Regions from separate parts of the Homo sapiens genome. Here all the other regions are linked to region 1. The links are contacts of gene promoters, found by promoter capture Hi-C in blood cells and fetal thymus (Javierre and others, 2016). All regions are on one chromosome and are shown on one strand. Each heading gives the region's core, a stretch centred on a gene start or on the middle of the fragment in contact. The rest is flanking DNA. Distances are from core to core; before and after follow the strand shown. Region 1 holds the start of ATXN1L (ataxin 1 like). Region 2 overlaps AP1G1 (adaptor related protein complex 1 subunit gamma 1). Region 3 overlaps PKD1L3 (polycystin 1 like 3, transient receptor potential channel interacting). Region 4 overlaps AP1G1 (adaptor related protein complex 1 subunit gamma 1). Region 5 overlaps PKD1L3 (polycystin 1 like 3, transient receptor potential channel interacting). Region 6 overlaps AP1G1 (adaptor related protein complex 1 subunit gamma 1).

Region 1 (4,336 bases), core at 1,337-3,836:
CAAAGAACAACAAAATTCTAAATTCTTCTGACCTTACGTACACTTCCGGTTCCCTAGTCTCAAAAGGCTTCTTCTCAATGATCACCTTCAATTTGCCTTCTCTATTCATTCCCTTTCTTTTTTCTTTGTGCTTTCTTTTACCAATAGCTCCTTCTCCACTGTAGGTCTGCTCCAGGCACCACTCCATGAAATTCTGGTTCCATTCCTCTAAACATGCCTGTTTTTTTCCCCGTATCTGTATGATTCATAAGAAAGTTCTCTTTCCCTTTTCTCTTATTGTCACCTTTCACAAATGCTTTTGTCCATTGTTATAAAGCAACTTTTTGGTCTGAACACTTCAGTGCACATGAACTTTGCTGCCTATTTCTTCCAACCAGGTTCCAGTTCTTTGGATCTGAAAAGAGCTTTCTATATTACATTCTGTTCTGTTTTTCCACTGTGACATCCCAGATATTTTCCTGAAACAAGGAATTCAAAGTGCCGGTATTACCTGAGTTTCCAGTGGTGCTTCTGAGCAGCTGTAGTAAGTGTCCTCCCGGCTGGCTCGGGAGCCTAGAAGATAGAAACAGGAATGGAGTAAGCGGCTGCCTGACCTCTAATTCTCCCCAGGGTCACCATGAAAGGTAATTCCAAAGCATTAGAGTATACACGTCCTTGCCTCATCTTCTTCTCCACAGGTAAACAGTACATTTACCCAGAGTGCCCAGGCAGTTGAACAGAGAGAAAAACACCTCTAATGCTCCAACTTGTAAGAAGACATCCCTGAAAAAAAATTTCCATGTATCAAATTTCATTGGTTTTCCGTAACATCATTTCCCTAACATCTACCTGTGCCTGTTCCCCAAAGGTTAAATTTGCTCCAATCCAAATTTCAGATAAACGCACAAATAAAAATGGAAGCTTTAACACTGTTCCCATATGAACAATGGGAAGCAGGAAAAATCAACTCTATGGATTTCCCCTTTATTCTGGGCCTATGAAAACATAAATGTGGAGTTATTTAAATGAAAAAAAGCAGCAGTAGATGAAAAAGAACAATTATTTATGTTTCTGGGGCAGAAAAAGAGGTCAGGGGGGAGTCACTCAAGGAGAAGACTTATTAAGAGATTTTCAGGGTTAAAAAAAAATGAGCATATGTGTGTGTGTATGTAAAATTTTCTGAGTGACAGTATACCAAGTGCTGAATCAGGTATGAAAGAAACTGAAAATATTGCCTTGGTCCTCAGCTGGCTAACACTGGTGAAACAAAACTACCACTAAACCATCACTATGTGAATCTACACTTGCCAGAAACGCAAAGCGAGAAAGAATGGAGCCTTAACCTCTGAAAACAGAGAAGGCAGTACAGATGAGTGAGTGCTCTGAGAAACTGACTATCCTGTCCAAGTCCTATAGAACACTCTAAGCCTCAACCCAAACCGAATGCAACATTTCTCTCTTAAGATTGGCAAGGTGCAGGTGTACACAAAAGGTGGAAGGATAGGAAAACACAGTGGGAAAACAAATTCCTAATTCCACAAACACATATTATTACACAGTGGCATAAATAATGACTCTTTTCTCCACCAGCAGCTTTAATAACTGAAAAGCAGCTTGCTTTCTTCTTCATTCCCAACAGAAACTGGGGTCACACTTCAATCCCAAAATGATCCTTGCTTTCTGTAACGAAAACTTTAAAGAAAACCTGCCTCCAGGTCACCGAGAAGTTAGCAAACACAGGCTAGTAAAGGGACCGAAAGAGGCAAAAGGTCTGCAGAAAGGAAAACAAAGAGCCAAGCCTGTGCGCCAGGTTCCCACAACGCAAAACACACTTAAGAATCCGAAACCTCCGCCTCTCGAGAACCTCACTGAGCATCTCAAAGGGAAAACGCAGCTTGTGACCCCAACCGAGCTAACAGGCTGTTCAGGAGAGTTGCCAACGCTGCTAGCAGAGCCCGGAACCAAGCTCCTCATCACGCTTGGGTCGGAATCAAGGGGCTGAACCCAGCTGGAGACCCAAATTCTCTGCGGGCGAGAGGTGCGCCCGACAGAAAGGGAGAAGCTTGTCAGAGACTACGGTTATGGCTCCCAGTGGTCCCGCAATCCTTGATCCAACAAGGGTAGGGCTCGAAATTGGGAATTCTGCGTTTAGAGAGTAGGGGGTCCACCCTTCACCAAGGGGGCAGGGGCGAGGCCCTGCAGGCGACGCTTCCTTGTTTGGGGGCCCTTCCCGCCCCACAGACTCGGACACCTTGGCTCGCAGGCACACAGCCTCCGGGGCGCCGGGGCCTGAGGCCACCTTCCAGGACAGGCCAGAGAGAAGCGCGAGGGGGTCTAGGTGCGGCCTCTCCCCTCCGTCTGTCCACGGTTCATGGGCCCCGGCCCGCCGGAGCAACGGGCTCCTGAGGGCCACTTCCTCCGGAGCACCGACCCCAGGCCTGCCTGGCCCCGGCGGCCACCACTTCCAGGGACACTCACCAGCCCATTTCACAGCGCTTCCCAGGATCCACTCACTCGTCCCGGAGCCGCCGCAACCGCGGCCGCCGCCATCCCCGGCCCCGGAGCCGCCCCACACCCAGCGCCCCCCACAGCCGGGCGCCCGGAGATGGCGTCAAGCTCGTCCCGCCCCCGGCGCGGAGAGATTGCGTCACGGCCGGGGTGGGAGAGCAACGCCCAGGACTCCCCGGGAAGGGAGGGTGCCACACTGCCTTCGCGTCGGGCGTTCCCTCTGGTGGGTGAACAAACTCCTCTCCCTGGGACCGGGTCACGTGAATAGGGCTGGGCCCGGCCCCCTCAGCCTGACCCCACAATGACCCCGCAATCTTTCCACCTCAGTAAATTTTGGGGGTTCCCAAACAGAGCCCCGGGGCGTGGTCATCGGCGACCCCCCATTTCCTGGACTTCTTGTCCTGACTTGTGCAGCCCCTTCTGGGGAACTTCGGGGGACCCCGAGGTGACCTAGGCTCAGGAGAAAAGGAGATACCTCTTACCTCTTGGGGACCCAGGTGGAGATAGGAAGTCTTCTTTTTTTCTTTTCTTTCTTTTTTTTGGAGACAGTTTCGCTCTTGTTGCCCAGGCTAGAGTGCAATGGCACGATCTCGGCTCACCCAACCTCCGCCTGCCAGGTTCAAGCAATTCTCCTATCTCAGCCTCCCGAGTAGCTGGGATTACAGGCATGCGCCACCACACCTGGCTAATTTTTTGTATTTTTAGTAGAGACAGGGTTTCTCCTTGCTGGTCAGGCTGGTCTCGAACTCCCGACCTCAGGTGATCCCCACACCTCGGCCTGCCAAAGTGCTGGGATTACAGGCGTGAGCCACCGTGCCAGGTCAATAGGAGCTCTGTAAGTGTTGAGAAGTGGCCCCCGAGGGAGCTAAGAGTGAACCCCACTCAGGATCTAGGGGAAGGTGACAAGGAGTGGAACACCTGAAAGTTTAGAGAGAGCCCGGGGTTTAGTACAGTGAGAAGCAGCTTGGTTTAGTGGAAAGAGGGCTTGACTACTCAGTGAAATATTATTCATTACAAATTAACTAATTATTCATTACAAATTAACTGGTCAACTTCATAGTAACATGAACATCTGATTAACTTAAGTGAAGACAAAAGTGAGCGCCAGTTGAATTTATGTTTGAATAACAACTGTGTTTTTGTTGTTGTTTGTTTTAAAGTATTAGGTTGGTGCAAAAGTAATTGCGGTTTTGGCCACCGAAATGGAGACTTTCAGTTTCTTCAAACTCTGTTCAATAAATAACAATTGGGCCAGGCGCGGTGGCTCACGCCTGCAATCCCAGCACTTTGGGAGGCCAAGGCCGGCGGATCACGAGGTCAGGAGATCGCAGACCATCCTGGCTAACACGGCGAAACCCCGTCTCTACTAAAAATACAGAAAATTAGCCGGGCATGGTGGCGGGCACCTGTACTCCCAGCTACTCGGGAGGCTGAAGCAGGAGAATGGCATGAACCCGGGAGGCAGAGCTTGCAGTGAGCCGAGATCGTGCCACTGCACTCCAGCCTGGGCAATAGAGTGAGACTCCGTCTTAAAAAAAAAAAAAGAAAAAAAAAGATATGTCATTGCAGTTGCGTGTATGTGTGTGTGTGTGTGTACATATAATTTTTTTTTTTTTTTAGCCCTGTCGCCCAGGTTAGAGTGCAGTGGTGCCATCTTAGCTCACTGCAGCCTCAAATTCCTGTGCTCAAGCAGTCCTCCCACCTCAGCCTCTGGGGTAGGTGCGATGATAGGCATGCACTACCATGCCCAGCTAATTTTTTAAAATTTCTTGCAGAGACAAGGTCTTGCTATGTTGCCCAGGCTGGTCTTAGACTCCTGTGCTCAAGTGATCTTCCCTCCTCGGCCTCC
Region 2 (4,336 bases), core at 1,340-3,839, 110 kb after region 1:
TGCTCTTTTGTAAATAACAAATGGAACCCAGAGACATCAGGTGGCTTAGTGGCATCTTATTAAAATGCAACTTCAAAAAAAGCTAGATTAAAGGTCTGGTTTTTGGGGGTAGGGGAGAAGCTTAGACATTTTAATTTATACACAAGTTGAAATCTGAGGTAAGAGCATTTGTTGAAACCAAATACCTACATTTACTGCTACAGTTATTAAGTATGAATAGAAAAATAGAGGCATTTTAAATGAAGCAGCCAAATGAAAAATAGCTTTAGAAACTGAAATTAAGCAATATTTTTATTATCTCTTCTCAAAGAAATAAGCTCACCTTAATAGTAATCAGTTGGTTTTCAGTTTTTGAAAATGGTTCAGAGAATTTCTTTAATAGAGCTCTACTAGTTGCTCATAAGTAACAGTATACTTTCTTTCTCTTGTAACACTTGCCTTTCCTCTGCTATTCACTATATTTTGAGCATCGGCCTCTATAGTACAAGCACAAACTCCTTTGACCATCTGATACAGAGAGTAAAAAATGTCTTAGTGCATTTGTATTTGAAATCTGCCATACAAAAAGTGTCTAATTGAGTTCTCTTAAAACTACTGCTGTTACCTGTGAGTTAAGTCATTTTTTAAAATTTTATGCTTTAGGAACAAAAGGTCATGTTCACATTTACTGTAGGTTTTTCAGATAAAGCAACAGTGTATCTGAATGGAGAGCGTACGATGAGTATATGTTCACCTCATTTTTTAAGAGACTTGGATACAAGGTTTGAATCTTTTTGAAAAGGACTCAGCAAAATGTTACTAGGAGAATGCTCCATGGTGGCTCACGCCTGTAATGCCAGCATTTTAGGAGGCTGAGGTGGGTGTATTATCTGAGGTCAGGAGTTGAAGACCAGCCTGGCCAACATGGTGAAACCCCGTCTCTACTAAAAATAAAAATATTAGTCTGGTGTGGCGGTGAGCCAAGATTGTGCCACTGCACTCCAGCCTGGGCAATAAGAACAAAACCCTGTTTCAAAAGAAAAGAAAAGAAAAAATGCTCCCAAGGAGTTCTGTCCTTTTAATGCAGTTCAAGGATTAAAGCTAACCGTGTATTCTGCAGATGCGCTTTCTCAACTTGGTGGCATGACATTGTTAGCTTCTTGGCTCAAGCCTAGAGTACTGGGTGTTTTTTGTTGTTGTTTACCTGTCATTCTTAACAGACAGCTTTGCTTTAAGTTTTGACCTCTAAGATTAAAAGTCTATTTGTGGACCGGACAGATTCTGGAGATTTCATTTCAGTATATAATTTGCACTTCTCTTTTCCTCTTATAGCAACAGCTGCGAATGCGGATCAAGCTTACATATAATCACAAGGGCTCAGCAATGCAAGATCTAGCAGAGGTGAACAACTTTCCCCCTCAGTCCTGGCAATGAGGGTTTGGCACCATTCTCATTCTTTATCCCACTCAATCAAAGGAACTCTGGGAAGGAGGTTGTGATTGCTGGCAAGTCCCCCCCAACTGTACCACGGGCATGAGGAGCTGAAGAGAACTGCTGAGGAGGATTTTCCTAAAGTTACTGCTGACCTTGAAGCATTGTTAAAGACTAATGTCCTCTCCTCCACTGTTGAGGCTGGCTGCTTCTGGAGGCTACTTTGCACTCTTCCTCTTCTCCTTTTTCCGCACTTCTCCACCCCTCCCACATTTACAGCCAGAATCAACATTCCCTGGGCCCCTGAGGAAATAAGCAGCTGGTCTGGAGGAGAGGACTGCAATCCATGGCGAAAAAACACTCACTTTGTCTCTGCAGCAAAGAGTTGCCCCTTCTTTCTACTGTTGTTTCTCTGTGGACTGGGCAAGGTGGGGTATTTATTCCTCACTAGCTGGGTTACCATCTTCAGGCACTTTTAACATCTGGCATTCGGAATGGAAATGTAATAATGGACATTAGGGAGCCCTGCCTTTTTCTACTGGTTCCCCCAATGTTTGAAAGAGGCATTAGGCTCCTGGTAGCCTTTTCTGTGCATTGCTGTATACACACAGACACACACATGTATGTTTGTTACCAAGAACTGGTCAGACCTTGCGAGTTTATTTGTAAACACTGGACAGATGGAGTTAAAAAGAGCTTTTGTTGAGATTTGGCATGAAGGATATGGTGCTCTATTTGTAATAGAAACTTCCAAGGCTCTTCCAGCTCCCCTTTCTCGCCATTCTTTAGCTGTAGTCATGAATAGTCTCCATGATTTTCAAAATTGATTCCCTTTAAAGTGCAAAATGGTCACCTTCTAAAAGATATATTCATAGTTATTAATGACCCTATTCCCACCACAAATTTTAAAGTGCTCCTAAGCCCATAACTTGCCTGTTTGAACTATGGTAATGGGTGGAAGAGGAGTTCACCAGTTTCAAAGATCAGACTCTGTATCAAAAGTACCTTTGCCCTTAGGAAGAGTGAGTATTGGAGTCATCTTATCTATTACTCCAAACCTCCCTTTTTATTTCTTGAGCCTGGCTTGGACCTTGGCATTCCGTTTGAATTCCTTCTAACTGGAACATTTGTGTTGTATCTGTAACACTGGCACTGAAATAAAGACCACACGGTTAAAGAAATCTTTCCATATTGTACTTTATGGTGTTGGAGTGAAGCCTTGTAGCTTCCATACCCCTATGTCAGAGGAGGTCTTACGGACACCATAGGGTAGGAATAGCCTTTCCTCAGTCTGAGAAATTGGTCTCTTTTAAAAGACGAATCTCATGAATATTCACATCAAAGACTTGAGCTTTTTAAACTAGTGAGAGTGCCAAGTGCTTTTTAGAAAGGACCCATATGTTATCAAACTTTGAAATTGAGTTGCTGGAATGAAGTAGAGGTGACTCTCTCTGTGGTACACATTGAATGTACTATGTATGTTCAAGTATTCAGGCGCCATGTCTTATATACTGAAGAAAGAAAAAGTGAGGCCCACCTTGCTCTTACAATGTTTGCAATTGTTACTGTATTGAATACAGTATAATGACTACTATGGCTTCAATCTTAAACCTGGAAACAAATATCCCTTTTTTTCCCCTTCATTTCACCAAGCCTTTACTTAAAATCTTCAGTGTCTTGTCAAATCTAGCTCTGTATCAGATGCTGGAATATTCCTAACATTTGACAAACTGGAGTTGAACTAAAGGCTCCACGGGAAAGTTTCTGGTCTTACTAGTGTGTATGAGCAAGATCTGCTAAAACTTACTCCACTGGGTAAATGGTTGACTGAGTCAAGAACAGGATAATATCTCCTGCATAGTTTTCAGTAATGTAAGTGTGGACTAGTGCATATTTCAGACAACTGCTCTGCCTGTGCAATGAAAAATAGCCTTTAAGGGTTTCTTTGCAGACTGATTTCATTGGATGGATACTTAATGCTGTGAAACATGATAGGATTAACATAATGTTGGTGGATTTCTTGAATAGAATTTGTCTTAACATTCCTCTTTGTGTAGAGGCTTTATTTTCTCTCTTATATTTGTAGCTAACCAGCTCAGGTTTTTTTATTTGAACTGGGTTGAATCTCTGAAGAAATCTGTTCAAGACCATGCTATAAGACACTGTCAGCTAATGGAGCTGGGAAGGGTCTACTCTGCTGACAGAGCATTTCCTTGGGTGATCATAGTTTCGAGGTAGAGTTTATGATCATTCATAGCTTTGTCTAGAAGGAGTAAAATATCATGGCCTTAACACAAAGGGTGCTGCGTAGAATATGAATTGATTTTGGAATCAGAACACAAGCACCATACTGAAGGACTAGCAGCCAAATAACTGCCTAGGATACTGATGGTTGTGAAGACTGTTTCAAATGATTGGATCTTTGAAAGCTTCAGCGTGCCTTAGTTTCTAGGATCAGAATTAGTTTTCCTCTCACTTGGCCTTGCAGCTAAATGGAGAAATGTTTCAATTTCTTTGAATACTTGCACATTTCAATAATTCCTTTCCCGAGTATAACCACTCAAGGGGGAGCAAATTTGGATGGATTTACGACTTCACAGGCATTGTGAGGAAAGAGCATTTTCCAAGGCTGTTTTGATAACCCTGGGGTGATAAGCAGTGAGCCCTCACACACTTACTTTGACAATTTCACATGCACTTGTACTTCATTATTTCCCTCTTCAAGAGTCGTTTCTATTCTAGTTTCTGCCCCATCCCGGGGAATCCTAAAGGAGAATTAATTCATCTAAGTAATCTCAAAAAACTGTAGGAAGGGTGCTCTCCCTGAGAAGCTTCTCCCACAGTGCTTTGGTGCTGTTACCTTGAGGTGGTTTGGACAGTCACGGAAGTTTTAGGCTGTGCATAGTGATCATCTGTTAATTTTAAG
Region 3 (4,336 bases), core at 1,199-3,698, 100 kb before region 1:
CCCCAGCCATGAAGAACTTTTCTTTATAAATTACCCAGTCTCAGATAGTTCTTTATAGCAGTGTGAAAACAGACTAATACATTGTGCCTTCATTTTTCTTCCACTGCCCTAACGTTAGAATACTCTAACAAATTTTCTCAGTGTTCTCATTCATTAACAAATGAAGCAGTATTAGGAACACAACATGGTCTTTACTGCCAGGATAATTTTATCTCTAGATAAACGTAGTTAACTTCCTCAGTAAATAGTTAAACCTAGGAGAGGAATGACTTTGCGATTATTTTAATTGTTGAAGATGAAAGTTGATGTCATGCTTTTCTTTCAGTGCGTCCATTTGCTGTGGCCTGGTCTGAACTGCTGGTCAGCATCCATACTGCTGTCATCCTCTTCCCAATCAATCTTGTCATAGGGCGGCTCTTCCCGTTGATTGAGCCACAGGAGACTCTGCCCCTCTTTCCTCCCATCCAGGCCTCCTGCCTCTCAGATGCTTCTGTTGAGCCTCTCTCTGCCACAATGGTAGTTGAGGTAAGATTGGTATCAAATTTTATTTTATCTTATTTTATTGCCTGCTTGTTTGTTTTGACATAGGGTCTGGCTCTGTTGCACAGACTGGAGTGTAGTGGTGCAACCTCGGCTCACTGTGGCAGCCTCAAACTCCCGGCTCAAGTGGTCCTCCCACCTCAGCCTCCCAAGTAGCTGGGACTACAGGCATGTGACACCATGTCTGGCTAATTTTTGTATTTTTTTGTAGAGACAGGGTTTCACCATGTTACCCAGGCTGGTCTCAAACCCTTGGGCTCAAGCCATCCTCCCACCTTGGCCTCCCAAAGTGCTGGGATTTCAGGCGTAAGCCACCGTGCCCAGCCAGTATCAAATTTTACAGATAAATTACGTGCTCCCAGCTGGGCACGGTGGCTCACGCCTGTAATCTCAGCACTTTGGGAGGCCGAGGCAGGCGGATCACGAGGTCAGGAGATCGAGACCATCCTGGCTAACATGGTGAAACCCCGTCTCTACTAAAAAGACAAAAAAATAATAATTAGCCAGGCGTGATGGCATGCATCTGTAGTCCCAGCTACTCAGGAAGCTGAGCCAGGAGAATCACTTGAACCCAGGAGGCGGAGGTTGCAGTGAGCCAAGATTGCGCCCCTGCACTCCAGCCTGGCAACAGAGACAGAGCAAGACTCCGTCTCAAAAAAAAAAAAAAAAAAAAAAAAAAAAAATGACATGCTCCCTTTCCCCACGCAGTGGAAGAGAGCAGTGGGAAGAATCTCATGGGAGGCTGTCAGGGTCCTGTTACCTGTAATATATTTTTCCCAATTCCTGTGCCCTGAGCCGTGATCAACCACATGCTTAGCTTTTACTCTTGATGATTAAGTATTCTGAGAACTAAATGGGAGTGCATGGTACCACTCTGGCCTTGCTTTAGTCTTTGATGTTTGATCAAATTGTCTCTTTTTTCATTCTGTATTGTCTCATAAAACTGGTATTGCAGCTACCATGAGCTGTGAGGTGACTGCTTTCTGAAAAATTAGAGGAACATGAAAAATTGAGGTTCTTTGTGCTAAGCATATCCCCTTCTGACGAAAGGGAACGGCCTTACCACCTGTAATTGGTACAAATCCTGGGTTAATGAAAAACAGGCTGATTTTTCTCATCTGGTCCTACATTCAGGAATTAAAGGAAACTGTGAGATTCCTGCTCAGGAGAAATACATACCTACTCTCCAAGTGTGAGCAGCCGCCATGGAGTTCTTGGGACATTACTAAGCTGGTGAAACTTTTATCCAGCCTCGTATCATCTCACTTGGAGGGTCAAGGCTGTCATCAGCAGGGAGAGCGCCACTGGGCACGTGGTAAACTTCAGTAGATTTCAGTAACGAATCTTCCATCTGCCTCCCACTCCCTTGCATATGTCTTACTTTCTTACTCATTCATAACCGACAGGCCTGATACAACCTTCTGGTTGTTTTAATTTCCTTAAGCTTCTAGTATAGAGTTGATAGCTTTGTTCTCCTTGATGACTTGTAGACAATCTTTCTCTATCTGGTGAAACAAAGTACAGGATTAAGAAAAAAACACAAGCCAGATGTGGGTCACGCCTGTAATCCCGGCACTTTGAGAGGCCGAGGTGGGCAGATTACCTGAGGTCAGGAGATCAGGGCCAGCCTAGCCAACATGGCGAAACCCTGTCTCTACTAAAAATACAAAAATTAGCCAGGTGTAGTGGCGGGCGCCTGTAATCCCAGCTACGGGGGAGGCTGAGGCAGGAGAATTGCTTGAACTCAGGAGGCAGAGGTTGCAGTGAGCTGAGATCGCGCCACTACACTCCAGCTTGGGCAACATAGGCTCTGTCTTGAAAAAAGAAAAAAACACAGGTCGGGCAGGGTGGCTCACGCCTGTAATCCCAGCATTTTGGGAGGCCAAGGCATGCAGATCACCTGAGGTCAGAAGTTCAAAACCAGCCTGGCCAATGTGACAAAACCCTGTCTCTACTAAAAATACAAAAAAAAAAAAAAATTAGCTGGTCATGGTGGCAGATGCCTGTAATCTTAGCTACTAGAGAGGCTGAGGCAGGAGGATCACTTGAACCCGGGAGGCAGAGGTTTCAGTGAGCCAAGATCGTGCCACTACACTCAGCCTGGACGACAGACCAAGACTCCATCTCAAAAAAAAAAAAAAGAGAGAAATACAAAAAAAAGTTTTCTGTATTATACCCACATATCCTTTCTGCTTTGTCAAAGGCTGTTGAAACTTGTCATCCTTTTTCTTTTATGAGATGATGAGATTATGGAATTTATGGATTCTCAAATACTGTTTGAGTCTCCTGGGCACTTACTAGTATAGGTCACATGTACTGCCATTCTGGTGAAGAACTCAATAAGGTTTTAAAAGTCTTTAGATCAAAGCTTAGAATTTTACAATTGTTAAAAATTCACCAGCATCCTTAGAGAAGATGGTAGTACTGCAAATGTGGGGTACGGTCCAATCTCTGCTAGTAGTGGGAAAATATAGCCTCATCATCCATCAATGAATTGTTAATCTCTACCACTAATTGCTTCTTATTGAAATCCACTTGTGAAAGTGTCAACTTGAAATATATTTTCAGTTGTTCCTGAAAACCACCATCATTTCTGCTGTTACCTGCATAGAGTTCTGCAGAGGCTGAAATCTCACTTAGGCACGCTGGGTCTCACCCAGGGTCACCAGTCCTGTGACTTCCTAGATGCAGCCAGCCAACTTCAAAAACTCCAGGAACTCTTGGAAACACATATTCTTCCCACGGAGCAAGAGCCATCCAGGTAATGCACCACACCAAGCCTTCTTTATCCCCTGTAATCTTCCTCATCCTCTATCTCAGCCGATGCATACAAGATTATTCCCTCAACTTTTGTGCTTCAGGGAAGTCACCAGTTTTGCCATCCTGAGCTCAGAAGAAGGAAAAAAGCCCATCTCAAATGGCCTGTCCAAATGGTTGACTTCAGTCTGCTGGCTCCTCTTAGGTTTCACTAGCCTGGCTTCAGCCTTTTTTACAGCACTTTATAGCTTGGAATTGAGCAAAGACCAAGCCACCAGCTGGATGATTTCAATTATTTTATCAGTGCTTCAGAACATCTTCATCAGCCAGCCAGTAAAGGTATGTGAGGGATGGGAAGAACCATTGGAGTTGCAGAAGTTAGGGGAACTGAGGTCCCTGGGTGTCAATCCAAGGTGCCTAGTGGTTTTGACAATGTAACATAAACAACAAAAAACAAATAGGCAAACCAGGCTGGGTGTAGTGGCTCACACATGTAATCCCAGCAATTTGGGAGGCCAAGGCAGGCAGATTGCTTGAGTCCAGGTGTTCGAGACCAGCCTGGGCAACATGATGAAACTCCATGTCTACAAAAATTAGAAAAAATTAGCCAGGCATGGTGGTGTGCTCCTATAGTTCCAGCTACTTAGGAGTCTAAGGTGGGAGGATTGCTTGGCCCAGGAGGTCGAGGCTGCAGTAAGCCGTGATTGCGCCACTGTACTCCAGCCTAGGTGACAGAGTGAGACCCTGTCTCAAAACTAAAAAAAAAAAAAAAAAAGCAAACTGACATTTAACTGACATTTGTTAGGGATAAGTGTAATTCATGACAGAAAAAACTAAGAAGTATGGCAGAAAAGGATTGAGGAGTGAAGAGGACAGTAACAAATCAACAACCCAAAGCACTTTGAAAAAAATAAACAACAAAAAACTTAAAATGTTTTTAATTAAGAAAAATGTCAAACCCACACAAAAGTGTAGAGACTAGTACAATGCATTCTAAAGTCGTACCACCCAGCTTCAACAATAACCAACTCATGGCCAA
Region 4 (4,336 bases), core at 1,324-3,823, 96 kb after region 1:
TTTTTTAATCTAATTCCCAGTGTTAGAAAATAGAGAAACAGGCAGTACTCTTCACTTTATGGGAGTATAGGATGATGCCATCTTTTTACTATGCAGTTTGGTAGCATGTAGGAAAAGCCTTAAATTGTACCCTTTGATTCATTAATTCAATTTTTAGGACTTTAGCCTGAAAAAATAATAGGACAAGTACACAAAAATGTGTATGTAAAAGTATTCATCCTAATATTGTTTATAGTAGGAGAAAACCGGAAACAACTAGTAGTCCCCAAATGGGGATTAAGTAAATTATGAAACATCTGTAGGGAGAAAATTATATCATTGAAATTATGACTTATATGTATTTGTTGACTTATGAAATTATGACTTATATGTATATGTATTTGTTGCTGTGGAATTCTCTCTGGGGCATACTCGTTTTTTAGTTTACTTACAATGAATTAACTTGGTAAAAGGTTAAAAGTTAATAAATTTGATTAGCAAGGGGAAAAATTATAATCTAACAAAATGTAATTAACATAATGATGAACAGGACATGTTTTCCTAGTTTTCATGAGGCTCAAAAGAAGGGAGAAATTAACACTCCTGAAGGAAAGTGTTTATGAGAATTCAAAAGCTTTTTTTTTGTGCCCCTGATTTTATTTTTCTAACTGACTTGTGTTCTCTTATGATCATGTGATTTGTTTTCTTTAGCCTGTTACATGCTGGGTTACATTGATATTTGAATGCCTAACCAGCCTTACATACCTGGAATACGTGGTCAGGGTATATTATTCTTTTTATAACTTTGTTGGGTTTGATTTGCTAATATCTTGTTGAGTATTTTTATATGTGTATTCATGAGAGAGATTGGCTTATAGTTTTCTCTTATAATGTTGTTTTTGACCCATGTGTTATTTAGAAGTATGTTCTTTTAATCTCCAAATATTTTGGGATTTTTTTGCACCTGTCTTTGTGTTGCAGATTTCTAGTTTAATTCTGTGTGGTCTAAGAGCATACTGTCTATGATTTATGTTATTTGAAATTTGTTAAGATATTTTTTATGACCCAGAATATGGTCTTTCTTGGTTCAGTGTAAGTTTAAGAAAAATGTGTATTCTGCTGCTGTTGAATGAAGTAGTCTTATTATACAAACCCATTAGATCACCCTGATGCTTTCTTGTATTTAATGCACTCTGCTTTACGGAAGGATGTAAATAAACTATACTGCAAATTACCTGCTTTTTAGCTTCTCACCTTTCCTTCTGATCATTTTCCCAGAATTCTTCCTCTGTCTTTGTGTTTCTTAACAGGAGTGACCTGATAAAACCCTGATCACCTGGCTGTTTTTTTTTTTTTTTCTTTTTTTTCCTTTCCAAAATACACATGGTTAGGACTGGTCTCAGTCTTACAAATTAAATCTATTGTTCTATTTAGGAATGGGAGATTGACCAAGGTTGGGTGATAAAGTTTTAAACCTTTACATTATTATTATTATTATTATTATTGTTGGTAGTGATGGAGTCTTGCTGTGTGGCCCAGGCTTGTGTCAAACTCCTGGCCTCAAGCAGTCATCTTGCTTCAGCCATCCAAAGTGCTGCGATTACAGGTGTGAGCCACTGTGTCCAGCCTTCCTTTTTTAATTTGGACAAAGAGAAATTTTTTTTTTTTTTTTTTTGAGACGGAGTCTCAGTCTGTTGCTCAGGCTGGAGTGCAGTGGCGCAAACTCGGCTCACTGCAAGCTCGGCCTCCTGGGTTCACGCCATTCTGCTGTCTCAGCCTCCTGAGTAGCTGGGACTACAAGCACCCACCACATGCCCGGCTAATTTTTTGTATTTTTAGTAGAGACGGGGTTTCATCGTGTTAGCCAGGATGGTCTCGATCTCCTGACCTTGTGATCCACCCGCCTTGGCCTCCCAAAGTGCTGGGATTACAGGCGTGAGCCACCACACCCGGCCTTTGGACAAAGAGAAAATTTTTAAAAATAAAATAAAATTTAAAAATGTAACATATTTAAATAAGACTTTGAAGTTTGAGCTGTTATGAACCTGAGAATTGGAACCAAATTTATCTTTGAGGGTGTTTTCTGGTATTCTTCTTTTAAAAACAATAGTAATGGCTGGGCGCAGTGGCACACGCCTGTAATCCCAGCACTTTGAGAGGCCGAGGCAGGTGGATCATCTGAGGTCAGGAGTTCGAGACCACCCTGACCAACATGGTGAAACCCCATCTCTACTAAAAATAGAAAAAATTAGCCAGGTGTGGTGGCATGTACCTGTAGTCCCAGCTACTTGGGAGGCTGAGGCATGAGAATCGCTTGAACCTGGGAGGTGGAGGTTGCAGTGAGCCAAGATCGCGCTATCGCACTCCAGCCTGGGTGACAGAGCGAGACTCTGTCTCAAAAAAAGAAAGGAAAAAACACACAGTAATAATAATAGCTAACACTTGTTATCATCATTTCTGTGTGTTTCTAGGGGTAATTGTCTGCATTTCCTTTTAGGCAGGAAGTTATGTTCGTGATGATGCAGTCCCCAATTTAATCCAGTTAATAACTAATAGTGTGGAGATGCATGCCTATACTGTCCAGCGCCTGTACAAAGCAATTCTTGGTGATTATTCTCAAGTAAGTACTTCATTCAACTATTTTAGGGGGTAATTTTACCCTCAATTTTTCTGGTATGTTTTTCTTCTTTTTTTTCCCCCCTCCTCTCTCCCCTTTGGTATGTCTTTATTTCTAACACTCTAGATATGCACAGTTTTGATCTTTATTATGAGATGACCTATGATTTGCATTAAATAACTTTGGAAAAATTGAAGTTCTTGAGAAACGTTGACTTTTCTTTTCACAGCAACCTTTGGTACAAGTGGCTGCATGGTGTATAGGTGAATATGGTGATCTTCTTGTATCTGGCCAGTGTGAAGAGGAAGAGCCTATTCAGGTACTCCTTGTCACTCTTGGTTAAGTGGGGGAAAATAGTGGTTTTGGTTATAGGAGAGTAGTGTTTAATGGGGAGTTGAGGTTGATTCCTTGAAAACTTTTTAGGCCAGGCGTGGTGGCTCATGCCTATAATCCCAGCGCTTTGGGAGGCTGAGATGGGAGCATCGCTTGAGCCCAGGAGTTTGAGACCAGCCTGGGCAACATGGTGAAACTCTGTCTCTACAAAAGACACAAATATTAGACAGGTATGATGGTGTCTAGTCCCAGCTACTCAGGAGTGAGACCCTGTCTCAAAAAAATTTAAAAAATACCCAACTTTTTAAAGAAGCAAACGCGAATTATATTGGAAAACCTGCCATTTTTTGAGATGGAACTTATTGAGCCATTGTGAGGTTTTTTGTTTTTTTTTTTTTAATAGAGTCTCACTCTGTCACCCAAGCTGGAGTGCCATGGTGGGATCACAATTCACTGCAGCCTTGATCTCCTGGGTTTCAAGCGATCTTCCCACCTCAGCCTCCTGAGTAGCTGGGACTATAGGCAGGCACCACCCTGGCTAGTTTATTCTACTTTTTTTTTGTAGAGACAGGGTTTCACCGTGTTGCCCAGGCTGGTCTTGAACTTCTGGACTCAAGCAATCTGCCTGCCTTGGCCTCTCAAAGTGTTGGGATTAACAGGCATTGCTGAGTGTGGTGGCTCATGCCTGTAATCCCAGCACTTTGGGAGGCCAAGGCGGGTGGATCATGAGGTCACCTGCAGGGTGGTTAGCCAGACCATCCTGGCTAACACAGTGAAACCCTATCTCTACTAAAAAGTAGAAAAAATTGGCCGGGCGTGGTGGCAGGCACCTGTAGTCCCAGCTACTCGGGAGGCTGAGGCAGGAGAATGGCGTGAACCCGGGAGGTGGAGCTTGCAGTGAGCCAAGATTGCGCCACTGCATTCCAGCCTGGGTGACAGAGCCAGACTCCGTCTCAAAACAAAAAAAACAAAAAAAAAACAAAACAGGTGTGAGCCACTTTGCCTGGCCCCATTGTGAGATTTTAAAACCACTTTAGGCCCAAGTCTCTGTCCTAGTGGACTGAATTACTGTTTCTCTTACCCTCTGGCTGGTAAACAAGAAGAAATGAGACATGTATCCATGTTCTTATTTGCACATTAAAGGACTGGCTTTAAAAGGGAAAATTGTGGCAACAACACTTGAACTCTGTATGTTTTTCTTTTCTTCTTCTGTTTCTGCCACTTGAAGCTCTAATATTGCCTCTCAGCCCCAGTGGTCATTTTTCACTCTTTTTACCCCCACCTGCTCTGGTTGATAGAACCAGAGCACTTTTTTTTACCCCCAACTACTCTGGTTGATAGAACAGCTTGGACAGTTACCCTGGCAAAGCACAGGTTGAGTTAGAGGCTTTTGTAACGGTAGGATTG
Region 5 (4,336 bases), core at 522-3,021, 88 kb before region 1:
TGCCTGGCAGTGTGCTTTGCCCACAGACATCAGCTGCGTTCATCACACTTGAGCAGGGAGAGACCTAGCTAATCTCTCAGACAAGCAACAGTGACTGTGCTGTCTATGTTTAGGGTTGTCAGCTGAAACAGCAGAAGTGGAGGTTCTTCACTGGGAAAAGAAACATTCTGGACACAAGTATAATCCTCATTAGCTTCATCCTCCTGGGGCTTGACATGAAGAGTATTTCTCTACATAAGAAAAACATGGCACGATACCGCGATGACCAGGACAGGTGAGAGGAAGCCTGAGGGGCACAGCATATTCCTACCTCATGTCTAAAGTTTCCTGTTTATACACAAGTATTCTTCAAACTCCCCTACCAGATCTGTATTTGCATAACATTAGAGTTAAAAGAGAACTTGGACTCATGTCCACAGCAGAGAAGACAGTGAACTAGAAGCCATTTAACTGCTAGTCACATTGAAGAGCTCTTCTGCCTTCATTAGTGCTTAGGTATGTGCTTAAGGATAATGCATTTAAATTTCAGAAGGGCCTGGAATTGGTCATTATTTTGCCCTCTGGCGAAGGCATAAAGCCTAACGCACGACAAATAATCCTTTAAATAAAACCACAACACATAGTCCCATCCTTTAAATGCAAAGGGAGCTGCTTTCTGGGTAGGGATGTTCATCTATTCACTCATCCATACTAAGAGATTTTTGGTGCCTCTTTGGGCACCTTCTCTGGTTTTTCCCATGGAGAGGAACATCTATGTTTCCCATGCCAAGTGTTGCCAAGTGGTGCTTTGCTAACCTTTGCATCAGTGGCCAACAGCCTGGGTGGTGATCTGTGTAACTTTTCCTGAGGCATTGTTTCAAGTAGGCCTTATGGAGAGCAGTTTATGCAGTGACAGCGGATCTGTGCAGAGTGCCACTTGCTAGTGTCTGTGGGGCTCCTTCCAAGTAACCTGGTTGCTGCAACCTAAAATTATGAATGTCTCTCTCTCAAAACAAAACCTAATTGCTAAGCAACACCCCTCGCCTCTAGTCTACCACCCATCATTTTGTTCTAAGCTTGATTGCACCTATTACAGCAATCCTGTACTGCCAGAGAACACAGGATTAGTGTGCCACAGAAAACAGACCAGCAGCATGGCTCCTCTCTCTGGGCTGAGTTAATCTCCTTTTGAGAGGAGAGATTTGGCTCAGAGCAGTGCAGGAGGCTGGTTTTGCTTCCCAGGATGAATTTGGAATAAAGAAATCAGCTAGAGGTCACATTTTAAGGCTTCTTCGGCACAGCTCCCAGTGCAATCTGCAGCAGGTAGATCACTTGAATAGTATGTGGCCTTCTGTTACTCCCATATCCACAACTCACAGGAGGCCACAATAGAAAGCAGTTCTCACATCAACAAGCATTTGACCTCACAGGACTCAGGGCTGCCACGATCAGCAGCAGGGGCGCTGGGGAAACTGCAGTATAGGCACATACTTCTTGCTGAGTAACTGTCAGCTTTCCTTGGTGCAGATTCATCAGCTTCTATGAGGCAGTAAAAGTGAACTCTGCTGCGACTCACCTTGTGGGCTTCCCGGTTCTCCTGGCAACTGTTCAGTTATGGAACCTGCTGCGTCATAGCCCCAGGCTGCGGGTCATCAGCAGGACACTGAGCCGAGCCTGGGACGAGGTGGTGGGCTTTCTGCTGATCATCCTAATCCTGCTGACAGGCTATGCCATTGCCGTAAGCCCCCACGTTGCTGTCTCTCCTTCTCCGTGTGCTGTGGTCTTGGAATCGCATCGCTTCCCATAGAAATGGTCACAACACAGAAACCCGAGGTGGTACAGTAGGAAAGCCGGGTTTAGATCTAGTTCCACACTTAACTGGTATGACTTAAACCCACATATTTTTCTCTAAAATGGGGATAAAACTTAGCTCACACGGTAATATAAAGGTCAAATAAACTTCTATGAAAACACTATGTTATTACAAAGGAAGTTTATGTATTCTTTGGGCATAATTTGGCCACAAGGAATTTCTGTTCCATTGCTTCTATGTTGGCCACATCCCCAAGCACCTCAGGATAGAAAGATGTGCGCTCGGCTTGCACTAACTGGCCTTTCTCCTTCTGTTCAGTTTAACCTGCTGTTTGGATGCAGCATCTCTGACTACCGGACATTTTTCAGCTCAGCAGTGACTGTTGTTGGTCTCCTGATGGGAATTTCTCACCAAGAGGAGGTAAAAATAATAATTTGTTTCCTCACAGAATTCAATATATTGAACAAGGAAAATTGGGGGGGTCCTTATGAAAACAGCCCCCTACTGTACACTGCACACTGGAAAAGGGGGAAAATTTCAGTCCTTTGCTCTACTGCTTTATGGTACTGCCTATGCATACAGCATTTACATGGCTGTTGCTTTCAGAAACCTGCCCTTTCCTAAGCACTCAGTCCCTCCTTCCTCACTTCTTGTGTCCTTAATCTTATTGGCAAAGGACACTGAGCCGAAGCTTGTGCTCTTGTGCTTGGCCAGATTAACAAGATTCTCTGCTTCTCAATGGCCCCTTGAAAGTGCATTAACAGGGTAGGGTAAGTTGGTTCAAGCCATGAGAGGCCAAGAAGGGGAGGACTGCTTGAGGCCAAGAATTTGAGACCAGCCTGGGCAACATAGAGACTTTGTCTCTACTAAAAATAAAAAATAAAAATTAGCCAGGTGTGGTGGCATGCACCTGTAGTCCTAGCCACTCAGGAGGCTGGAGGCTGAGGAGAGAGAATCCTGTGAGCCCAGGAGTTGGAAGCTGCAATAAGCCATGATCATGCCACTACACTCCAGACCCTATGTCTATTTAAATTAAAAAAAAAAAAAAAAAAAAAAAAAGGCCAGGTGCGGTGGCTCATGCCTATAATCCTAATACTTTGGGAAGCCGAAGCCAGCGGATCACTTTTGAGGTCAGGAGTTCAAGACCAGCCTGGCCAACATGGTGAAACCCCATCTCTAATAAAAACACAAAAATTAGCCTAGCCAGGCGTGGTGGTGCACACCTGTAATCCCAGCTCCTCAGGAGGTTGATGCAGGAGAATTGCCTTAACCTGGCAGGCGGAGGTTGCAGTGAGCTGAGATTGTGCCACTGCACTCCAGCCTGGGCAAGACAGTGAAACTGTCTCAAAAAAAAAAGTGACATAATGGAAGTGACAAAGAATTAGGAAGGTACAGTTCTAAGAGAAACTGCGTTATTTCTGTTGAGTTAATAACTACTCACTTCAGAGAGCCTATTATTTCCTCCCAGGAACTACCAACAGAAATCCCTGCCTTCCTCCTCAACATATAAAGTAGGAAACCCAAATGAGGCACTGGGCTCCAAACCCTGGTATGTAAAGGGTAGATATGACCAAGCAAGGAAAAACCTGCCATTTAAGCAGTGAAACTGGCAAGATTTTGATCATGGTTGATCATTCTAATGATCTAGAATTCCAAAATTACTAATTAAAATGGGTAGGTTCAGTTTCTAATGTTGTATCTGCAGGGTCTGCATCCACAGATTCAACCAATCCCAGAATGAAAATATTTGAAAGGTAACAATAAAATATAACACACATTTTAAAATACAGTAGAAGAGTCAGGCATGGTAGCATGTACCTGTAGTTCCTGTTACTTAGGAGGCCAAAGTGAAAAGATTGCTTGAGCTCAGGAGTGAGGATGCAATGAGCTATGATCATCCCACTGCCCTCTGAGCGAGACTGTCTCCCACAAAAAACCACAAACCGGTGTAACAACTATTTTACGTAGCAGTTCCACTATAAAGTACTAGAGGTAATCTAAAGTTTATTTCAAGTATAAGAGAGATGTATATAGGGTTTATGCAAATACTGTGCCATTTTTAAAAAGGGACTTTGAGCCGGGCACAGTAGCTCACGCCTGTAATCCCAGCACTCTAGAAGGCCAAGGTGGGGCTGATCACTTGAGGTCAGGAGTTCAAGACCAGCCTGGCCAACATGGTAAAATCCCGTCTCTACTAAAATACAAAAATTAGCCAGGCATGGTGGTGGGAACCTGTAATCCCAGCCACTCAGGAGACTGACTGAGGAGAATCGCTTGAACCTGGGAGGTGGAGGTTGCAGTGAGCCAAGATCACGCCACTGCACTCCAGCCGGGGTGAGAGCAAGACCATTTCAAAAAAAAAAAAAAAAAAAAAAAGTGGGGGAGAAGACACTTTCTTAACCTTTAGGGAAGCTTGCAATTAAAAAATAAAAATAAGGGACTTAAGCATCCTCAGATTTTGGTACCTGTGGGGGCCCTGGCGCCAATCTCTCTCAGATACTAAGGGACAACTGTAACTGCTGTTTTGGCTGACTAGGCTGTGTT
Region 6 (4,336 bases), core at 1,305-3,804, 79 kb after region 1:
GAGTCGGGGTTTCACCATGTTGGCCAAGCTGGTCTTGAACTCCTGACCTCAGGTGATCAGCCCGCCTCAGCCTCCCAAAGTGCTGGGATTACAGGTGTGAGCCACTGCTCCTGGCCTGTTTTTTTTTTTTTTTTTTTTGTATTTTTTTTTTAAAGGCAGGAATTTCTTTTCTTTTCTTTTTTTTTTTTTTTTTTTTTTTGAGACAGAGTCTTGCTCTGTCGCCCATGCTGGAGTGCAGTGGCGCGATCTTGGCTCGCTGCAAGTTCCGCCTCCCGGGTTCATGCCATTCTCCTGCTGCCTCAGCCTCCCAAGTAGCTGGGACTGCAGGTGCCTGGCACCACGCCTGGCTAATTTTTTGTATTTTTAGTAGAGTCAGGGTTTCACTGTGTTAGCCAGGATGGTCTTGATCTCCTGACCTCGTGATCCACCCGCCTCAGCCTCCCAAAGTGCTGTGATTACAGGCGTGAGCCACCGCGCCCAGCTCTTTTCTATTTTTTTAAGGTTAAAACTAAAAATTTTTTTATTACTTTTACTCTACTGTTCGTTTTAGGACATTGACTCCTGTGATGGAAGTCTTAGTTCTCTTAAGTACTCCCTTCTCTCTTTTTTTTTTTTTGTGGCGGAGTCTGGCTCTGTCGCCCAGGCTGAGGTGCAGTGGTGCAATCTTGGCTCACTGCAACCTCCACCTCCTGGGTTCAAGTGATTCTCCTCCCTCAGCCTCCTGAGTAGCTGGGACTACAGGCGCCTGCCACCATGCCCGGCTAATTTTGTTTTGTATTTTTAGTAGAGATGGGGTTTCACCATGTTAGCCAGGCTGGTTCGAACTCTTGACCTCAGGTGATCCACCCGCCTCAGCCTCCTCAAGTGCTGGGATTACAGGCGTGAGCTACCGCGCCCGGCCTTTTTTTTTTTTTTTTTTTTTTTAAACTAGTATTTTAAACTGGACATTTCTGTTTCTCCACTTAATTTTAGACTCAGAAGAAGACTGTTCTTTGGGTAGTTACATGCATTGAACTTCTTTTATAGGATGCTGGTCATTCCATAAATAGAACTCACTTTGTACTTTAGATCTAGTAAGGCTCTAACAGGAGTTCTTTTTTGGCTTTTTTTCCCTTAGATGTTCATGTCTTGATTAAATTATTGTAATATAGTATGAGACCCGTATCTGTCCCTAATGCTTGCTTTGTATGTTTTGTTCCTGTTGTCTGTTTGGAATCCTGCTGTATGTTAGAATGAAAAGGTAAGAATTAACCCTCTTTTAGATGGTGCATGCTGGCATTAGGTCCTTAGTAGCTTTTGTGTATCGATCCACAAATGTGGCTTTTAAAATATACTAATGCTGAAGCTGTGCTTAATACTGTGAGTTATTGTTCTACCATCTTTGGCTAACTTCCTAGTCTAGTTTTTGTTTTGTCACTTAAACTCCTGACTCCAAAGTCAGCCTTGGATTTCAGTTGCAGCCTTTCCTGAGTTGTAAGCCTTCTTCTCTGCCTTTTCTTTATCTTTACTTGAGAAACTTTGAGCAGTTTCCCAGTGGCTTTGGTGATGGCAATTCCAGATTAGTCTGGAGCTTTGACACAAAATGCTGCTGCTTTTTGAAGTAGATATTTTAGAACCGCATGTGGGTAACCTCATACTTTAAAAAGCTCCGTATGTACTGCTGAGCTTTCAGTTCACACTTAGAGATTTTATTTCTCTCTTACCTGTACTTAATCTTACATAGAAGTTTTGGAATATTAAAAGGATTTTGAGGTAGAGTAGTGGGCACCAACTGATTTTCATGGCTGCAGCCTTTCCCTGTGTCATCTTATTTTGTTTGTCTTGTCATCAGTTTTAATAACTTGCATTTTTGTCTGAAAAATGAAACTGGGTTCCAAGAATTGTATGCTGAACATTTAGTCATTTGTGCTCTGTGTCCCAGGGTAATGTTATGTGATGTGCTGGCCTTTTTGGCAGTGGATAAAACAATTTCTGAATTTAGTAGCCCAAGGAAAAATGACTTTTCCAAGAAATAAACCAGATAAAAAATAACTAGGGTTATATCTAGTACAAAAAAAACAGACCATTGGGAAGTATGTAAGATAAGGTTGGTAACTACTTGGTCTTCATTTTATTACAAAAATATTGATTTAAAGTGGTTTTAAAAGGTATATTATTATCTCTAATATAACTTTGCCCATAGTTGACAGATTTAATGAATTTACAGATCTCCATGGCTTAGATTTGTCTTATTTGGAGTTGTCCAAAGTAGACTTTTGTTTAGGTGACTTATAAGTTACTTAATTCCAAACTGTTATGGCTCAACTTATTTAAATTCTTACATACTGTGTTTTCTTGTGTTTATAAGTGGCCTTAATGTTTTGAATGCTTTGAGTGCATGCCTTGGATATAGCTTGGCTTTTCATTTCAATCTTGATCCCCTTTTAGGCTTGGGGAGTAGGGAAGGGACAGAGTCTAAATATAGTGAGAAAAAATAACTGAGTTGCAGCAGAGTTGTAGCTAAAATTGCCTGCAAAAGAGATGGAATGCAATTCACTTTGCACACTATTTAACTTAATTTTTGGTCATTAGAGTTGTTTATATAGCTAAAAATTGAGTTTTTAGTTGGAAACATAAAAAGTTCCTATTGTGGCAAACCTTTTGTTTTAATATCAAGTAATTGATCAACAGAAATGAAATGAGTGCCAATATTTAAAACATCTTCGGCTTGGCAGTAAAATTGCCTTTACTATGTGTTAGGACTCTTAATGGATAAAGTAAAGGAAGGATAGGAAGGAAATTCCTGATTATAAGGAATGTATAGTCTCATTGAAAAGACAAGAAAACAGGCCATAAAGCCATATATATAAATAAGTCCTGAAATTTAAAAAAATTGTATCATAGGAGTTAAGAATAGGAAGAGGAAATTATTCATGGCCTTGATGTCTCTTAAGATGAAAGATGTAATTTTTTCATGTGTCTTCCATTTGATTACCGTATTACTATTGTCAGCTTTGGTATTCCCTGTTGTTTGTTGGAAAAGGGTATAACTCTTCTATCTTAAGAGAAGAGATTTTTTTCTCTATTTGAGGTTGTATGTTTTAAAGCTATAATTTTAATAAGATCACTAGTTGTATTTTGGCATGATGACATGTTACATGCAAATGTTTGAATGGGTGAAAACTGAACATGTTTTTGCCACCTAGGCTTTTCAAGTTCTACAGAACTAGAAATGCGGTATGCCCCATAGGCATCTGTTTTACCTGGTTCCCATAGGCTTTCTGACCCAATATTATTTGTAATATCTTTACATATAACTCTTGCATAAAAAAGTCTGGTTTGGTTTTATCCAGATAAAATACATACTACTTCTTGAATATTGCCCTAAGTTACTCCTAAGTTTATCAAACATCTACAATACACTAGTATATTAAATCAGTAGAATTTGCTTGGACTGGGACCCTTACACCCTTTTTCTAAACCAAAGGACCTGCTTATTCATGAGACATTCTTCAATATTCACTGTTTTTTGATGCATCTTTCTTCTCTGCAGCTTGTGCCCCAATTAGTTCGTATTTTAAAGAACCTCATCATGTCCGGATATTCACCAGAACATGATGTTTCTGGTATCAGTGACCCCTTTTTGCAGGTGAGGTTGAAAGAACGTTTTAAATAAATGTTATATGAATTTAATATCTTTAAGTAGACAATTTCCTTCCTCTTAAGTTTGTGTTGAGTAGAAATTTGGTAGTTAATTGATTAATTATATTAATGAATAGTGACACAATTCTATATTAGATTAAGAGGATACAATTACAGGTCTTGCTCTGTCACTTAGGCTGGAGTGCAGTGGCACAATCTTGCCTCACTGCAGCCTCGACCTCCCAGGGTCAAGTGATCTTCCCAAGTAGCTGGGATTTCAGGTGCATGCCACCATGCCCGGCTCATTTTGTATATTTTGTAGAGACAGGGTTTTGCCATGTTGCCTAGGCTGGTCTCAAACTCCTGGACTCAAGTAGCCCGCCCCCCTCAGCCTCTCAAAGTACTGGGATTACAGGCAAGAGCCACTGTGCCCCACTTCAAATTACAGTTTTAATAGTCAAAATCATTTATTATTTGAATTATTTAATATAGCTCTGCAGGTGGTAGTATCTGGTAGTATCCTTTAGCTGTGGAGTACTGAAGTGTGGGTTGTTTTATAATAACTTTATTAGATGTAGAAGCATATATAGCTTCTCTAAATAAAGAAAATGTTTTCAATTCTTCTGTTTGATTTTTGACTATTTCTGATATGAATAAATGGTTCCAAATGAATTTCTAAGACTTCATTTAGTTATTTGAATTTCATACCAAGTGA

What was found. The method cuts DNA at HindIII sites, captures the fragments that hold promoters and counts their contacts. A CHiCAGO score of 5 or more calls a contact.
Region 2: a fragment that was not itself captured here is called in contact with the fragment with the promoter of ATXN1L in region 1 in 1 of 17 cell types (activated CD4 T cells); the score reaches 6.9 in activated CD4 T cells.
Region 3: a contact is called between a fragment that was not itself captured here and the fragment with the promoter of ATXN1L in region 1, in 1 of 17 cell types (total CD4 T cells). The highest score is 5.2, in total CD4 T cells.
Region 4: a fragment that was not itself captured here is called in contact with the fragment with the promoter of ATXN1L in region 1 in 3 of 17 cell types (naive CD4 T cells, total CD4 T cells and activated CD4 T cells); the score reaches 6.1 in naive CD4 T cells.
Region 5: a contact is called between a fragment that was not itself captured here and the fragment with the promoter of ATXN1L in region 1, in 3 of 17 cell types (activated CD4 T cells, naive CD4 T cells and total CD4 T cells). The highest score is 6.8, in activated CD4 T cells.
Region 6: a fragment that was not itself captured here is called in contact with the fragment with the promoter of ATXN1L in region 1 in 1 of 17 cell types (total CD4 T cells); the score reaches 5.8 in total CD4 T cells.

The regions. Positions count from the first base shown.
Region 1 is chr16:71,844,226-71,848,561 of GRCh38, reverse strand. ATXN1L (ataxin 1 like) reads right to left here and starts at 2,586. Exons shown (of 3, transcript NM_001137675.4): 1 at 2,458-2,586; 2 at 491-552. RefSeq lists enhancers at 2,099-2,168, 1,970-2,741, 2,959-3,008, 2,742-3,514 and a silencer at 2,389-2,698. The HindIII fragment of the contact is 5,556 bases long and covers 2,044-4,336 here.
Region 2 is chr16:71,730,135-71,734,470 of GRCh38, reverse strand. It overlaps AP1G1 (adaptor related protein complex 1 subunit gamma 1), which reads left to right. Exons shown (of 23, transcript NM_001128.6): 23 at 1,312-4,336. The coding sequence ends at 1,413. Among named protein-coding and RNA genes, the nearest start is that of PHLPP2, 7.6 kb to the right of the region's middle. The HindIII fragment of the contact is 2,504 bases long and covers 1,338-3,841 here.
Region 3 is chr16:71,949,083-71,953,418 of GRCh38, reverse strand. It overlaps PKD1L3 (polycystin 1 like 3, transient receptor potential channel interacting), which reads left to right. Exons shown (of 30, transcript NM_181536.2): 18 at 326-525; 19 at 1,675-1,855; 20 at 3,109-3,301; 21 at 3,402-3,636. Among named protein-coding and RNA genes, the nearest start is that of PKD1L3, 49 kb to the left of the region's middle. The HindIII fragment of the contact is 924 bases long and covers 1,987-2,910 here.
Region 4 is chr16:71,748,473-71,752,808 of GRCh38, reverse strand. It overlaps AP1G1 (adaptor related protein complex 1 subunit gamma 1), which reads left to right. Exons shown (of 23, transcript NM_001128.6): 14 at 2,477-2,599; 15 at 2,826-2,915. Among named protein-coding and RNA genes, the nearest start is that of SNORD71, 7.8 kb to the left of the region's middle. The HindIII fragment of the contact is 3,916 bases long and covers 616-4,336 here.
Region 5 is chr16:71,931,296-71,935,631 of GRCh38, reverse strand. PKD1L3 (polycystin 1 like 3, transient receptor potential channel interacting) reads left to right here. Exons shown (of 30, transcript NM_181536.2): 26 at 114-274; 27 at 1,507-1,717; 28 at 2,111-2,212. Among named protein-coding and RNA genes, the nearest start is that of IST1, 38 kb to the right of the region's middle. The HindIII fragment of the contact is 1,428 bases long and covers 1,058-2,485 here.
Region 6 is chr16:71,764,781-71,769,116 of GRCh38, reverse strand. It overlaps AP1G1 (adaptor related protein complex 1 subunit gamma 1), which reads left to right. Exons shown (of 23, transcript NM_001128.6): 7 at 3,533-3,628. Among named protein-coding and RNA genes, the nearest start is that of SNORD71, 8.5 kb to the right of the region's middle. The HindIII fragment of the contact is 7,773 bases long and covers 1-4,336 here.